Linked DNA regions of Homo sapiens: regions 1 and 3 are each linked to region 2. The links are contacts of gene promoters, found by promoter capture Hi-C in blood cells and fetal thymus (Javierre and others, 2016). All regions are on one chromosome and are shown on one strand. The core of a region is centred on a gene start or on the middle of the fragment in contact, and the rest is flanking DNA. Distances in the headings are between cores, read along the strand shown. Region 1 overlaps LOC124901764 (a long non-coding RNA gene). Region 2 holds the start of KEL (Kell metallo-endopeptidase (Kell blood group)). Region 3 holds the start of PIP (prolactin induced protein).

Evidence for each region. The method cuts DNA at HindIII sites, captures the fragments that hold promoters and counts their contacts. A CHiCAGO score of 5 or more calls a contact.
Region 1: a contact is called between a fragment that was not itself captured here and the fragment with the promoter of KEL in region 2, in 1 of 17 cell types (neutrophils). The highest score is 8.2, in neutrophils.
Region 3: the fragment with the promoter of PIP here is called in contact with the fragment with the promoter of KEL in region 2 in 4 of 17 cell types (M2 macrophages, M0 macrophages, naive B cells and 1 more); the score reaches 6.7 in M2 macrophages.

What each region holds. Positions count from the first base shown.
Region 1 is chr7:143,201,206-143,204,559 of GRCh38, forward strand. It overlaps LOC124901764 (a long non-coding RNA gene), which reads right to left. Exons shown (of 2, transcript XR_007060567.1): 1 at 1,971-3,354; 2 at 851-1,222. Among named protein-coding and RNA genes, the nearest start is that of TAS2R40, 19 kb to the right of the region's middle. The HindIII fragment of the contact is 871 bases long and covers 934-1,804 here.
Region 2 is chr7:142,959,961-142,963,735 of GRCh38, forward strand. It overlaps KEL (Kell metallo-endopeptidase (Kell blood group)), which reads right to left and starts at 2,403. Exons shown (of 19, transcript NM_000420.3): 1 at 2,244-2,403; 2 at 1,835-1,912; 3 at 1,400-1,541; 4 at 968-1,144. The coding sequence starts at 2,246. RefSeq lists a silencer at 2,167-2,362. The HindIII fragment of the contact is 12,002 bases long and covers 1-3,775 here.
Region 3 is chr7:143,129,929-143,133,593 of GRCh38, forward strand. PIP (prolactin induced protein) reads left to right here and starts at 2,149. Exons shown (of 4, transcript NM_002652.3): 1 at 2,149-2,283. The coding sequence starts at 2,189. The HindIII fragment of the contact is 4,172 bases long and covers 1-3,665 here.

The DNA of each region.
Region 1 (3,354 bases), core at 119-2,618, 240 kb after region 2:
ACTGTGCAATAGAACACCAGAACTAATTCCTCCTATCTAACTGTAACTTTGTAGTCATTGACAAATCTCTCCCCATTTGCCCCCTAATCTCACTATCTTCCCCAGCCTCTGATAACCACTATCCTACTCTCTACTTCTATGAGATCAACTTTTTAAGATTCCACATATTGGTAAGATCATGCAGTATTTGTCTTTTTGTGCCTGGATTATTTCACTTAAAATAATGTTCTCTAGGTTTACCCATGTTGCCACAAATGATAGTACTACAATTTTTTTTTTTTTTGAGATAGAGTCTCACACTGTTGCCCAGGCTGGAGTGCAGTGGCACAATCTCGGCTCACTGTAACCTCTACCTCCTGGGTTCAAGCAATTCTCCTACCTCAGCCTCCCAAGTAGCTGGGATCACAGGCATGCACCACTACGCCGGGCTAATTTTTGTATTTTTAGTAGAGACAGGGTTTCACCATGTTGGCCAGGCTGGTCTCGAACTCCTGACCTCAGGCAATCTGCCCGCCTTGGCCGCCCAAAGTGCTGGGATTACAGGTGTGAGCCACTGTGCAGGCCGTATTCCAGTTATTTTTTATGTCTAAATAGTATTCCACTGTGTATATATAAAACACATTTTCTTTCTCTATTCACCCATTGGTGAACACATAGGTTGATCCCATATCTTGACTCTTGTAAACAGTGCTGCAATAAACATTGAGAGTTCAGATACCTCTCAGTGATTTCCTTTGGACATATACTCAGTAGTGGGGTTGCTGGATCATATGGCTAGTTCTATTTTTAACTGTTGAGGAATTTCCATACTGTTTTCCATAATGACTTACTAATTTACATTTTCACCTTCTCATTTCTTAATTGTTTATTTTTAATAGCATCCTTCTCTTATTTTATGGAGGCAATATCTTCTGTGCCTCCTCTAAGGACACAAGCTTAAATTTTTTGTCTTCTTTGATCTTTATTTCTTCAGGGGTAATTCACTCTTGGTGTTTAGCTTGGTCTTTCTCTTTCAGGCTGTGGATTTTGTTCCTATTTCTGATCATCCTTGATTAGTAATTCATGAAGGAAAAGGAAAGGCTGTTTTGGGTAAGCAGGTATCATTCTCCAGTAGAACGGTCTCCTGAATGGAAAGGCTGATTGGAAGCTCTCTTTTGTAACTGGGCCACCTTGACAGGCTGGCTCCTCTTTTAGGTATGTGGGTGTGGAATCTGACATTAGCCTGGAAATTCAAAATGCCATAATAAAAAAAGGGTTTAATCTATGTGCAAATATCTGCACTTGAAGCCCTAGTTCTTCCTTGGAAATGTATTCAATTTTTCTAGAAAAGAATTCTCAATATGAAGGTTTTCGATGGTTCTGTATGCAGTGGCAAGGAAGGCACTGGAAAGCATCAATGATGCAGCTATATGGCAGACAGAATTTTAATGATGCCTCTGGTTTTTGCACAATGTCTCGCTCCTGCTATCCAAAGCTAGGAATCCGATAGCCAAGGCCCTCCAGGCTTCTAGCAGCCTGATCAGCCACCACATTCCCAGAGGCCCATGACATGCATATTCTGAGCATCCTTTACTCCACTTCATCTACAATATGCTTTTTCTGATTGTCCACAACCAAGAAATAGGATGAAATCTCCAGTCTGCTCTTGGCCATCCTCATTCCCTTCTCTTTAGTGTTATGATATTTTTTTCTCTATGGAGTCTCAGAAGAAAGGGAAGTAGTGAACACATTATTTAAAAAATCAAATCAAAACCTTATACATACTTTTTTTTTATCATACAAGAACCTCTGGGTCTATTTCAGAAGCTTAATATTTGGTGCCCAAAATATTTTATCCTGGACAATCTTATATTGCACAAATCTTAATTCAGAGTCATAAAAGTCCCCCAAACTGGCTTTTTAAGCTGGTGCATAAACCCCATTGATGATAGTCTTATCCTATTTTTGTTTATGCTCATGTGCTTTCTCACCTGTTAAGAAACTTGCTAATTCTATTATGCGACTCTCTGGCAAAGCTTATCAAAGCTTCAAATTAATTAAGCAGTGGCAGCTCCCAATTTCCTTTTCTTACTGGCAAAAATTTGTTTCACAGAAAATGTTTAGAAAGCTTAAGTTGGTAACAGCTGATTGTTGACCTGGAAATAAGAGGTCTTCATCAATATGTTAAGCGGTCAGGATACTTAAAGAAAAACATCTATGGAGACTTCTTAGCATGCACTCTAGGCAAATACTTGCTGTCCTTCACCATTATTTCAGGATTTTTTTTTCCTAAAAGCATAAGAACAAACACATAAATGATAAAAGCAGAATTTAGGCCAACTCTAGCTTGCCTGCCAAGTAGGTAAGATGCGGTGGCAGAATACTGGCTACACTTGTGCCTGTATCACCATGGAGACCCTACTCTGACCATCAAATAATGGGATTCTAATGAGGAATGCTGCTGAACAACAAGCATGGCTGAGCACAAAGACAGAGCTGCTGGCATTGGAACATGGGAGTGAGCAAGAAAGGGGCAGCCCAAGGGAGAAGAAAAGGTGACACTGAACGTAGGTGTCGTGATGAGAAGAAAATAGGTTGCAGGTGGTGACTGCCTGGAGACCAGCCCAAATCACCTTCCACCTTTACGTGGAATCCAGGCTCAAAGCAGGAGGGACAAACTTGAGTGGGATAAATGTGACATGAAATGAGTCAGTTTGCCCAGAATATGTTTTTACCTATGAGGTGGATTGCATGGGATGGGGGAGGGGGGCTTGTAGGCAGGAGGGGCTGGGTCATGGAAATTAAATGAATTACTTTCCTAATGTGCATTGTTGTTTTTTTTTTTTTTTACACAATTGGTTCACAAAATAAAAAATTAATCCTTACTTTATGTATGAGCTCATCTGGGATTTTGAAATAGCCTCCTGATGCACATCTGTACTTAGACCAATTCTAAATCCTGGACTAGAATTTTGAGTAAAATCATCTCCAGGCAAGAGCCAGGACCAGTGAGAGCTGAGAGGCTCAAGAAGTGATGAGAATAGATTAGATGAACCCTCACTGCTGATATCAGAATTAGAAATGAATTATAACAAGGCTGAGTTTCAAAGAGAAATGCCCAGGATGGGGTCAGGATGCACCTTTCTCTCTCTCCATACAAGCTCTCCCTGAGGGGTCTCCTCTATTCTAAGTGCTCAGGTCCCCTCACAAGCCAATGGCTTCCAAACTTGTGTTTATCTCATCTCTTGCTCTTGATCTCCAGGCCTCTCTACCCACCAACAATCCCTTCTCCTATATATATATTTTTGGGCCCAAATTTTTGCTAAGTGAATTGTTCTGGCTCTAACTATCCTCTCCTTTGCAAATGAGAGGTCT
Region 2 (3,775 bases), core at 1,153-3,652:
CTTGCACTGGAAATGCATGTCTATCTTATATGTTCTTATTCCCAAATCCTCACCACCATCCACCAACTTCCTGGGACGCACTTCCAACCTCCTACTCAGTTTCAGCTCATCCTTCTGGTTTTCCTCTCAGTCCTGGCAGTTTTCCTCTCCAGCCTCCATCTGCAGGAACTTTACTTCCACTGCCAATTAACTCAGCTCTCCTCTTCTTCCAGCATATCCTTTGTACTTACCCACTTTTTCTCTTATGCACAGTGATGAAGCCCTCTCTCACTTCTCACCCCACCATCCTACCCCTTTCATTCCACCATCATCCATCATCTCCAATCATCCATCTCTAACATCCCACTTGTTCCAGGTCAACTTGCTTGCCATGGTTCAAGGTTTCAATGGAGAAGCAAGAAGCAAGAGATCATTGTGAGAGAGGGGAGCTCCGGCATGGTGAGAGGGAGAGGGTAATGTTGACAAGGAGTCATTGGGAGACTGAGGTTTTGGAGGTTAGAGAATGAGAGTGATGGACAAAAGAATTGAAATGCAGGAGATGCTGAAGAGATGCTTGTGGAGGAAAACACCATGCATAGGATAGAAACTGAACATTTGGAGGAAGCAACAAAGATGGAGCTTGCTAAAAGGGACAAGTTGGAGAGAATGGAGTAATTATGGATACATGGAGAAGCAAAGAAGATGGAAATTAGATAAAGAAAAAAATGCAGAAAGGGACCAAGAGAAACGGAAGAAGGGTACCCAAGGCAAGGCAACAGGAAACAGTGAGAGATGAGCAAACCCAGGCAGCTCCCGCCATCCTGCCTCTTTTACTCCCCCATCATCTCCAATCATCCACCCGTATAATCCCACCTGGGATGGTGCAAATCAGTTGTTCCACAACTACACAGGGTTTGGAGCAGTCATGGTCATTTTAGGCACAGAGTCACCCACTTGCACAGAGCATCTTCCACCCTGCTTTCCTCACCCAGTATTCTCCGAAGTCGGTTTTTGTTCTTTGTGGCAAGCTCCTGAAAAGAATTATTGGTCTCTTTGGCCCTTCCACAGGCAAAGCTGAAGAAGTCGGTGCAGGGGGCCACACTTGTGTTCCCAGAGGCCAGGTAATGATCCCGGAGATCCAAACACACAGATGTCTCACAGGGGCCTGTGGGGAAAAGCTCAGAGCTGGGAAAGAAGAGGCAAAAAGACAAGGGCTCCCCCAAGGGGCTAGGCAAAGAACATCAGGTGAGTAACTAAGTGGGGAGCTGATGAAAAAGAAATGGTTAGGATGCAGGGAGGAAGAAGAACCATGGGGACCCCAAGGGTCAGGGTGGGCAGAAGCCCCAGGAGCAGGGACTGGGCCTGGGCCCCAGGGCTGGGGGAGGGCTGACTAGGTTAGGGGGTCTGGGATCTTGCTTACGAGGGCCACAGTTCTGGAAGTTGTAGAACAAAAGCACAGAAAAACAAAGGAGCAGGCCCAAAATCAGGATAGCTGTCAGCACCCGCCTGGCCACTGCCCATGGCCTGCTCCCTTCCACGGGCAGCCTCTCTTCTGGAGTGCTCTGTGGGAGGAACCAAGAGGTGAAAGATACAAGATGGGGGTTGAGAGACAGGGATGGGAAGAAGAGGAGAGAGAATGAATCTGTTGGTGCTACAGTCCCTTTATACAGAAATAATTATCCCAATTCTTCCTAAACCCAGCCCTACTTTAACTCCTGGGAGATGAGAAAACAAGGAATGTCAACTGTTTTGGGTGAGGATGAAGCAGACAGTTAGTAGATGAGTGTTTGTGGGATTTTAGAGCCGAGAGTGACAACATCAGTGTATTCCAGACCCAGGAGAGGAGGCCACTTACCTCTTGGCTCCAGAGAGTTCCCATTCCACCTGCCTGGCTGCGTTCCCTCGGCTCTTCCTCACTTTGGTCCCCACCTTCCTGAAGTGAGTGGAGGGAGAAGGAGGAGAGAGAAGCTGGTTCAGGAAATGGTGCATTGAAGAGAGTTTTATCAGGCCATTTTGATACCCTCGCTGCCTGCCCTGCCCCCACACACATATTTTTATCTCGGAGCAGTGTTCCCAGATGGGCTTCAGAACGAACCTGTCCCCTGAATGTGCCATTTCTCGATCCCTCTCCCATTACCTCCCTCTCTCCCCACCTTTCTACTCTGTAAGCCTTACATTCCCTCCCCTCCAGTGGGGGCAGGACTTTTGCACACAGCCACCCTCACCCCTCCCCGCTAAGCCTCTGACTCCAAAAGGGGACTTACCATCTGTCTATCTTCTGTGGCTCCAGAATCCTTCCTGGTTCCACTCTAGGAGCTGATTCGGAGGACTGGGGTCCAGGAAACACCCCCCGCCCCAGTTCCTTGATCCTGGAGAAGGGGCACTTCTGCTGCTCTTTCGCCTTGTCCCCAGACACACAGGACTGGCCTCTGGGTGGAGCCTGCTTATCAGTGGGGGGCACCCAGGCTTCTCCTCCCCCTTTATCTCAGCTTCTCAGGGGAGAAGAGGGAGGGAGTCTTCACTCCCCAAGCAATCTTGCCCTTGGTCTGCTCCTTTTGTCTTGCACTGTGACTCTGCCCATGAAGTTCCTTTATTTCTAAAATATTCTTCCTTCTCTCATTTCTTCTGTATTAAAAAAAATATGAGGCACAGTAAAATTTTAAAGAGTTTATTTAAGTAAGAAGCAATTCATGAATTGGGGAGCACCAGACCGACAAAGGTTTAGTGTTGCGATGACAAAATGTCAGAGGCAAGCATTTATTGGGAAGTTATAGAAGCAAAATGAAACATTATTTGCTTAGTTTGCAGTTACATAATTGCATTTTTTAGGTAACTTTTTGGAAAGTCCCTAGTCACATAATCATATGTTAGTTGGCTGCTTATCATTGGCTGGGGTTAAGTTTTATTTGTTGTAAGCATTTATCAGAAATTGACCCAAGTTAAGTTTAATTTATGTTTGTAGTTTTAGCAAGAATATGGCTATTTTTAAGGTCTTTGGCTTTGTTTGCCTGGGAATTTTTCAGGCCCAGTCTCCATTTTAATTTTGTTTTCACACCTCTCTGATTGGCTTTTCTGGGATTCATCAATTCCCAGGTCAAATGCCACCTTTCCCAGGAGGCCTCCCAGCTCCATGCCCATTCACACTGTTCCCAAGCATGCTTAATTGTTTCTCTCGGTGTTTCATAGCTCTGCTGGCTGCTGGCAAAGTCATGCATTCAAAAGATCACCCAGCTAGGAGACCCTAATCTGCTAATTATTAGCTCTGTGACAATAAACAAGCCACTTAAACTCTGAGGCAGGTAAGCAAGTTTTGTCATCTGGAAAATGAGGGTAATACTTGCCTATGCCTACCTCATAGGATCTCATGCCTTCTACAAAAGAATAAGGCTTTACTGAGCCCCTCTTTCTTTCATTCTGCTTTCTGTTACACTGATAGCTTGCCTCTTCATCTCCTTAGTGATTGAAAACTATGTCATAGCATGTACAGTGTCTGGTTTTCATTCCTGCCCACCCAAGATGCTTTCTAAATGTTAATAGAAATGAATTGCATTCCAAGCCAGAAATCCTCTTTCTCACATCATATTAAGCCCTTACCTGTGGTCTGAGAGAGGCAAGCACATTTCTGGGGGAAGGTGTTTCAACTCTGTCCTTGTTTCCTCATCCCAGGAAAAAAATAATGTAATTTATTAGGTTAGTCTTGCAAATGATCCCCTGGCGATATTTCCAGATTCCATCAGCACTGTGCTAGGGCCATGGTGCACTTGCCAGGATGAGGGTGGGTGTGGAGAAGTGGAGT
Region 3 (3,665 bases), core at 899-3,398, 170 kb after region 2:
CTCAAATTTTACTGATTTAAATGTTAATCACATTTAAAACAAACAAACAAACAACAACTTCACAGCAACTTCTAAACTGTTGTTTTTCCAAAAAGTGGGCACCATGCCTAGCTAAGCTAACAAATAAAAGTAACCATCACAGCAGTCATGGCCTGAATAAGACTTGTCCTAGGCCAGGCACAGTGGCTCACACCTGTAATCCCAGCAATTTGGGAGGCCGAGGCAGGTGGATCACTTGAGGTCAGGAATGTAAGATCAGCTTGGCCAACATGGTGAAACCCCATCTCTACCAAAAATACAAAAATTAGCCGGGTATGGTGGCACCTGCCTATAATCCCCACTACTCGGGTGGCTGAGGCATGAGAATTTCCTGAACCCGGGAGGTGGAGGCTGCAGTGAGCTGAGATCATGCCACTGCACTCCAGCCTGGATGAGTGAGATTCTGTCTCAAAAAAAAAAGATTGTCCTGTACATTGTAGGTATTGCAGTTTCCTGCTAGCTCACAGAAGAACAGCCTCATTACCTTCAATAGATGCTCTTAACCCATCGTCATCTGCCTTCCTCTGGACACTGCCTTTTGGGAGTGCTGGAGTTGCATCCTCAAGGACAGGGCTATGCCTTCAAAGAGCCAAGCAAAGAACTTTTCCTGCATTTTCCCACACAGACACTTCCTAGATTCTTCTGCCTTATGCCTGCCTTGGTCAGTGTAGCTAGGATGTGCTTCAAATGGAAATTATGCAAGTGAGAAGGACCAGGTGTAAAGACAATTTAATTGTGGGAAAAGGCTTACAAAGGAAGGTCATTGTGACCCTCACAAGCAGTGTTCTTGAGTGGATAGGACATAAACAGGGAAGAAAGCATGTGATCATGAGAACAGCTGAAGTTCTGAGTGAGCAATGACATGAATGGTGTCCAATTCAAAGAAAAGAGAAGGTAGATCCAGGAGCTGAATAAACAGACAGAGCAATTTTGAGAGATACATCCAGAAAGCAGAAGCACACACTTACACTTTAGCTCTGAATCCTGGCTAAAGCAACATACAGAGGCGGTAACTCCTAGAACTCTGATTTTCACTCTGTTGCCAGAGAGGCTCTTCCTGGGCAGCTGTGTGCCATGCAAATGATAGAAACAAATCCCATAGTATTGTAAGTCATAGGTTAAGGAGCAGATTTAATTTCATAAGGAGAAATAACACAATGCCAGTGTCAGCAAGAGCAAGTCTCCCCATCATCCCAAGGAGAGGAATTCTACAACCTGGGTATCTACTGGACATAATGTGGGCTCCATTCTCACAGAAGGAATCCTTTCCACTGTGGTTCTTCCTGTGTGGCTTACGCATGAGACAAGTGTAAGAAAGTGGCCATGTCAATAAGAAAATAAGCCAGCTCTTTGGTGCCAAGAAGTCTGATTTGGGGGTGCCAGCTATTTATAGGAATTGTCTAGAATTAAAATATCACCCTGCCTTGGGGATTGTGGGGCAGCTGGGGATCTTGGACATCTGCAGTATATTGCAACCACACCTGAAATTAAGAAGGACTCAATGACAATAAACATCTTTACATCACCCAGTGTCTTGAACTCACTTCCCCATCATGTAGAGCAGCTCAGGTCTTCTCTAGCTCTTCCACCTCATGATGGGTAGTGACTGCTAGGGAAGTCCTGATCATCCTAGCCCTCCAAGAAATGTTTTGAATAGCATTGCATCTTGAACTCACTATAATTTGATCAAGCAAAGATGTTCTATGTCTCTGGTCTGAAACCTGCCACCACAGCTGTGTTCTCTGCTTTCAGAGACCAGGGGAGCAGTGACTGAAGCTAAGACTACACATAGCACTTCAGACAGGCAAATTAGGAGGGAAAAGAAAACTGAATCTGTAAACTCGGGAAAAACTGGTGTATCTTTTGAGGTCCCAGCCATTTTGAGAAACTCTGATGCTGAAAAAATAAGGAAGAACAATCTGACTCCTCTCTCAAACGCTGACATTCTAGCTGAGTGTTGATTTTTTCTTAGAAAAACAAACTTTGGGTCAACAAGGAAAGATCACGAGTGGGGAGGGTGAATGGGTGATTCACCTCATGGATCTCCCTGGCAGCTCTTGCACTTCCTTGATCAATCTGTATATAAGAAATGTGCTGGGCACCTGGGACACCACTTCTCTGGGACACATTGCCTTCTGTTTTCTCCAGCATGCGCTTGCTCCAGCTCCTGTTCAGGGCCAGCCCTGCCACCCTGCTCCTGGTTCTCTGCCTGCAGTTGGGGGCCAACAAAGCTCAGGACAACACGTGAGCCATGCCCTTCTCCTCCCCACAAAAAAAATTGCAGGGAGGGCTCCTCTCCCAGTCTGGAAATTACATATCTCTTTCTGAGAATTTCTTTCAACTTCCCAGAACTCTAGTCCCAGGAGCTCCCATGGATCTCCTGCCAGGTTCCACTTCTTGTCCTCTTAGGAAGCCCCACCAACTCCTCTCACATTTTTGCTGGGTGTTTCTGCATTGCCAGTGGAAATAAAGCTCCAAATGTACCTACAGGCTGTAATTAGTAGTTAGTCTTCATCTAACATGCTGATCCACATCTTGTTCATAATTTATACCTTTGTTCAGATTTCTGCTCAGTAAACTTTACCTTCTCACACCTTGCCTCCTAGAAGAGAAGCATAACAGGTCTGTGAATTCCAATGGCAGCTTAGGGCAGCTTTGGCAGGACTGGCTAAAGGACCAGAGGCCCTGGCCACTGCCCTGTGGTCTGAGATTGAGCTAGACTGGCAGCTTAGACATTCTTCCTAACCTGAAGTCTGAAGATGAATATGATGACCTCTTGCTCTCACGTATACTGGGACCTGAGAGCACAGGTTCAGAAGTCAACTTATTGAGAACACATGTGTGAAGGAAGCAGAAAAATTGGAGCAAGTAAAATAAAGTAGAAAATGGAGCCAAGGGTCTGGGAGAAAGCAGCGATACCCAATCTAGGGAGTTTTCTCTATAGCAGTAGGGTTTATAATGCTGGGTTTCTGGGTTGTGATCTTGGAGGTACTCTCTATGGCATGGTCAGATATCCTGTCCTGGAGGAAACTGTTCAGGGTTTTGACAAGCTAATGTAATGGAGGCAAGTGTCCCAAGAAACCCTGCATGGGGACAGGTTCAGATCCCACCCCATTCCCGCCAGATGACAGTCCACTTAGCCCTGAAGGGCAGCAAGGTATTCAAATAAGCTATGCTAATTAGGTTATCAACCATCCATCCTGATTTGCCCAGAACTTTCCTGGTTGTAGCACTGCAACTCTGCCCTCCCCCGCCACCTCCACAACCCATTCTGGAAAAGACCTCAGTCCTGGGTAAACTGAGATGGTTAGTCACTCGAACTAAGCTGGTCATCCTATCAATCTGAAACTCATATACAAATGGGAGAGATTTTGAAGTTGCTTAGGTATTTATACCCTTTTCCTGTGCACTGGGCACTACAGCAGTTGGCACCAAAAAATAGAATCTCTCTAAGATGCTTTGCCCCAAGAAAATGGGGCTGTGAGACACTGTGGGCTAAGAATCTCAATTCCCTTCTGTCCCACACAATAACAAAGGTCCGTAGCCGGGAGTTTCTAGGGACGAGAAAATAACTCTCCTGGCCCCGAACCCAGTCCTCATTGACTGAAGAAGAACATTTGACCATT